2 separate regions of the Homo sapiens genome follow, and region 2 is linked to region 1. Evidence: promoter capture Hi-C in 16 types of primary human blood cells and fetal thymus (Javierre and others, 2016). All regions are on one chromosome and are shown on one strand. The core of a region is centred on a gene start or on the middle of the fragment in contact, and the rest is flanking DNA. Distances in the headings are between cores, read along the strand shown.

Evidence for each region. The method cuts DNA at HindIII sites, captures the fragments that hold promoters and counts their contacts. A CHiCAGO score of 5 or more calls a contact.
Region 2: a fragment that was not itself captured here is called in contact with the fragment with the promoter of SLC25A36 in region 1 in 1 of 17 cell types (naive CD4 T cells); the score reaches 5.1 in naive CD4 T cells.

What each region holds. Positions count from the first base shown.
Region 1 is chr3:140,940,569-140,943,268 of GRCh38, reverse strand. SLC25A36 (solute carrier family 25 member 36) reads right to left here and starts at 1,433. Exons shown (of 7, transcript NM_001104647.3): 1 at 1,174-1,433. The coding sequence starts at 1,214. RefSeq lists enhancers at 280-509, 149-996, 1,090-1,459. The HindIII fragment of the contact is 2,098 bases long and covers 412-2,509 here.
Region 2 is chr3:142,994,635-142,997,334 of GRCh38, reverse strand. All of the region lies in intron 3 of PAQR9-AS1 (PAQR9 antisense RNA 1), which reads right to left. Among named protein-coding and RNA genes, the nearest start is that of U2SURP, 5.6 kb to the left of the region's middle. The HindIII fragment of the contact is 9,415 bases long and covers 1-2,700 here.

The DNA of each region.
Region 1 (2,700 bases), core at 184-2,683:
TGCGTGTGTATTTCTTTCATATTCTTAAAAGTCGATCTAAAAACTGCAGGATTTAAGAAGATGCCGGTAAGAGTCTCAGCATAATTCACCGAAGGCATTTTTGATAAGAAAACTCTTTATAATCCTCCAAATAAGTAACTCTTAAAATTGCTATGATTCTCCAAATGATTTAGAAGGAGCAAATCTAAACAGGAGGCTAAACTGGAAGCTCTAACACTCATTTTGGCAATCAGGGAACTAAGACTTTAGGCTTAGTCCTAATCTTGCACACACATAGTAACTATTAACACTATCTTCAAAAAATCTGACCTCTCTCCACTCCTACTTTCTCCTAAGCAGCAGAAAAGCAAGCGGTGTTCAAGAGGGGTGGTTTTCTCGAAAGGAATCTGACCCCAAAGGTACTGGAAAGCTTTGCACCCCATTCACCACCTGGAAAACCTCGGGCAAGAAATTTTCCAAGGGCTAGAAACACCCTACAGCAACCACGGGAGAATACCAAAGCCTTCCCCGCTCGATCCCGTAGCCCCCTTACCACCCACCTTGCAAAGCCGAGCCCGGAAATGAGCGGCCCGAGGTCCGAGGTGGGGCGTGAGTGACGTGCAGAGGCCCAAGCGAGCGCTGCAAGGAGCGAGGGCTAAAGGAGTCTCCGGCGCCCATTTTGTCCTCAGCCTCCGCACTTTCCGCCCCGTCCCCTTGGGCCATGCAACCTACGCGAAATCCGAAGCCAGGCTCCTCAAAGCGGCCCTGGATCCCCGACGCCTGCTAGATTGCGGCGTGCGGCCAGGTCCAGCGGCGTCCGGGTAATCAAGCGCCGACCCCAGCTCTTGCCCGCGTCTCCTCAGACGCATGGATTCGGCCTCCGCCTCACCCCGGCCCCGCGGGCCCAAAACCTCACTCCCGGCCCGGGTTTCATGCCTCAACCCTCTTTGCCCGGGCCTCACTCTCTCGCCCTCGGGCCCGGGCCTCACCCCCTTGCTTCCCCGAACCGGAGCCCCCCTCACCACCCACGGGCTGGGTCGCTCCCCTCACCCGCAGGCCCGTGGCAGCTCCCCGCCCAGGCCTCACTCCCGCCCCCCCACCCCCCCACCCCCCTCGGCCCCCCTCGCCCCCCTCGCCTGCGTCTTCGGCCCCAGCACCCTCAGCCCCAGTGCGCACGCCCCGCCAGGACCTTACCCTCCGGCAAACAGATGCACCAGCGTGTCCCTCTGGCTCATTCTCTCTCCCGCATGTCCTCCGGCCGCTGAGGCGGGACGCGGATCTGGCCGCCCGCTACGGCAGGCGGCTTCGGTCCCGGACTGGAGACGCACAGCGCCCCGGGGACGGCGAGGAGAGCTGGCCGAGATGCGGCTGCAGAAAGCAACCGGCACAGCCCTCCCCGCGGCACTCCAGCCGCGCCACCGCCTGCCTAAGCGCGCCGCCCTTCACCAGAGGCTGAAAGCGACGCAGCGCAGCGCGACGGAGAGTGGGCGGGGGATGGTAGGGGGAAGATGACTATTTGATGGCTCCCGACATAAACAGAGGCTCCCATTGGTGTGAGCGTCGTGACGTCACGCACTCTGCAGTGTTCTTTCACGTGATCCCTACGGGCTCTTTCAATGAAAGGGGCCGCGAGGCGTGGCCAGAACGCGTGCCCGGAGGGTGGTAGGTCACCGCGCTCCTAGCACCTGAGACCTGGGGCGCCCCTGGCCTGAGTGAACGCGCCAATCACGGCTGCACTCTCCTGAACAGGGAACTGGCGGGGCGGGAAAAATCGACTTGGTTCCGGGTTCGCAAGCGGATTTACTTTGAAAAAATTGGATTTATGACCCAGCAGTTCCCTTGGTGTCTATCTCAGAGTAACCCTCGCACAATGCATAAAAAGGTTTGTGCACGGATACTCCTATATAGGCTCACAAACAGTACAGAATTATGAACAATGCTTGCAGTTGCAGAAAATTGAAATCAGTGGGGGAATGAAGAAATAAATCATGAAACATTCCTACTATGGAATATTATGCAATCGTGACAAGGGATGAGGTGATTCCATATGGCAAAAAATCTCCCGAAGTGTGTAATAAGTAAAAAAGGCAAGTAGAATTAAAATACTTGGGTTTGTTTTTAAAAGAATAAAAGTTCATGGGAAATGGAATTAAAAGATAAAATTTAAAAATATAAACTTTGTTTTTCAACGTAAGCTCCATCAAGTTAAAGACAGTTTGGTAAGTGATGATACCGGCTCTTTAGTCCATCTGTAAAGAATTGAGGGTTCTGGGAATTTAATCATGAAAATGCAGGCTTTTTTACGTTATTAACTGAAGAAAAATGGGTGCCATTTACAGATTTTTCACGATTAGAAAACAAAAATATGTCAGAAGGAGCCAGGTCAGGAATGTAAGATGGATACCTGATAGTTTCCCATCGAAATCCCTGGAAAAATGCCCTTATTTAAAGAGAGGAATGAGCAGGAACATTGTCCTGATGGAGAAGGACTCTCTGGTGAAGATTTCGTAGGTGTTTTTATGCTAAAGCTTTGCTTCACTTTCTCCTATAGTAAGCGGATGTTATTGCTCTTCCACCCTCCAGAAAGTCAACAGGCAAAATACCTTGAGCATCCCAAAAAGCTGCTGCTATGACTTCGGCTCTTGACCAGTCTACTTTTGATTTGACTGGACCACTTGCACCTCTTGGTAACTATTGCTTTGATCCAGAATCATACTGAGA
Region 2 (2,700 bases), core at 1-2,500, 2.1 Mb before region 1:
GCAGCCAGGCGCAGTGGCTCACGCCTGTAATCCTAGCACTTTGGGAGGCCAAGGCAGGTGGATTGCCTGAGCTCAGGAATTTGAGACCAGCGTGGGCAACATGGTGAAACCCCTTCTCTACTAAAATACAAAAGAAATTAGCTGGGCATGGCAGCGTGCACCTGTAGTCCCAGCTACTCAGGAGGCTGAGGCAGGAGAAATGCTTGAACCCAGGAGGCAGAGGTTGCAGTGAGCTGAGATCACACCACTGCACTCCAGCCTGGGCAACAAAGCGAGACTCCGTCTCTACAAAAAATAATAATAATAATAATAATAATAATAATTAGCAGTGGCATTTTTTTAAAAATGATGTCAAAAAGTATATAGCCCAAGAATACACTGGTGCCATGTTGAAAATAATAGAAATTGCCATTTTAACTATGATCCTAGTGAGAAGGAAACCTTTACTGTGTAGGAATTATTTTATCAACAAGGTTAATAAAATCTAGGAGAGTCCAGATGGCGTACTGTGGAAATGGAAATGAGCGTTCCTGAGTGTGTGTGTGTGTGTGTGTGTGTGTGAGTGTGATAAAGGAGGACTCAAGGTTCCTGTGGCAGGTCATGAGAACCAGCACACGGCAAATCTGGGGAGCTCTCTCTTGCCATGGCCAGGCAACCCAAAGGTGGGCTTGACTTGGACCACCAAAGATAAGGCCTCACTTAACTTGTGACCTGGCTTTGGCCAGTGCGAAGCGTACATATCCCCATATTTACTGAAACTCACGAGACAAGACCAGGTAATATTACAGGCTGGGTGGAGAATGAAGTTATGAAAAGAAAATGAAAGAAGACTTTCCCTCATCAATTTCATCTGTTAATAACAAAAGTTGTTAGTAACAGTGGTCTTAAAACACATAAGGCTTTATTTTGACATTGCTATAGTGGTAAGATTCTATCAAAACAACATGGCATACCTTTCTTCTTTTTCAAGTTTTGTTCCATTTCCTTCACATTAACTTTGCATTATTTCCTGTTACTTTAATTGTTAGGTATTTTGTCTTTTCTGTTGTTACTGTGATTATAGTAAGTTTTTGTATTTATGTATGTCCTAAATAAGCTGTTTATTGATATATTAATGTTGTGTAATGTGTTTACTGAATTCTTTTATTATTTACATAGGTTTTCAGTTTATTCCCTTGAACTTTCAGGTATACAATCATATTTGCAAATAATTACCAGTTTGCCTCCTCCTTTCCCATTTTTATACTTTTTTCTTGTATAATTACATTAGCCAGTACCCCCAGAATAATGTTAAGAGTGGTGCTAATGAACATGCTTGTCTTTTTTTTTTTTTTTTTTTTATCGAGATGGAGTCTCTCTCTGTTGCCCAGGCTAGAGTGCAGTGGCACGATCTCTGCTCACTGCCAGCTCCGCCTCCCGGGTTCACGCCATTCTCCTGCCTCAGCCTTCCGAGTAGCTGGGACTACAGGTGCCCGCCACCACGCCCGGCTAATTTTTTGTATTTTTAGTAGAGATGGGGTTTCACCGTGTTAGCCAGGATGGTCTCGATCTTCTGACCTCATGATCCGCCCGCCTTGGCCTCCCAAAGTGCTGGGATTACAGGCGTGAGCCACCGCGCCCGGCCAAACATGCTTGTCTCATTCCTGACTCTAATGAGATGATTTTAGTATTCTTATGAGGATAAGGATAACTTTTTGGGTTGTACCTTGAATTGTACATTAACTTTTTTTTAGCTAACTGTGGAACTGAATAGAATTTAAAACTCTCATAAGAAAACTAAGGGACTGTGAGGATACACCAAAGAATGCCAATGGTCACACAGCCCTGTTAGAGAAACATTGTTAGAGGCTTGTGTCAAGACAAACCAGGACATCTCCCTGACTTGGGAAAATAGGGGAACAAAGTAGAAATGTCCCACTCTGCACACCAGTGAAAATGAGCAGTGTGGAACGCAGATTAGGAGGAGGACAGGTAGAAATCTGTATAGTTTCCTATTGCTGCTGTAGCAAATTACCACAAAGTTAGTGGCTTACAGCAACTCAGATGTATTTTATAGCTCTGGAGGTCAGAAATATAAAATGTACCACCAGGCCCGTGCTTATTTTGGAGTCTCTAAAGAATAATCCTTTTCTTTCCCCTTCCCAGCTTCTAGAATTCACCTGCATTCCTTGGTCTGTGGCCCTCTCCTCCATTAGCATCTTCTGACACTTGCCTCCACCCTTATCTCTTCTCCAACTCTGCTCCCTCCCTCTTATAAGGACCCTTGTGATTACATTGGCTCTACTATGACAATCCAGGATAATCTCCCATCTCAAGAGCCTTAATCACAGCTGCAAAGTCCCTTTGCCATGTTAGGCAATATATTTGCAGGTTCTGGGGATTAGGGTGTGGACATCTTTGGAGGGCCATTATTCAGTTTACCATAGGATCTATAATGAACTTTCTGTTTCTGTATTTTGTCCCTGGCTGAAAGGACACAGCTTTGATCCCACCAGAGAACTGACTTGGGAATGGTCCTAATAAATATAGTCATCTTTAATCAGTTGAGTTCTGAAATCATTACTTGGGAATTCAATGGGTAGAAGGTGTGGTTCCAGTGAGGATGGGATAAGACAGGTCCCTGTTGTCAAAGGGCTTGCAGGGCATAAAACACTCCCAGATGTATCACAATAAGATGCTAAGAAGTACAGGCTGAAATTT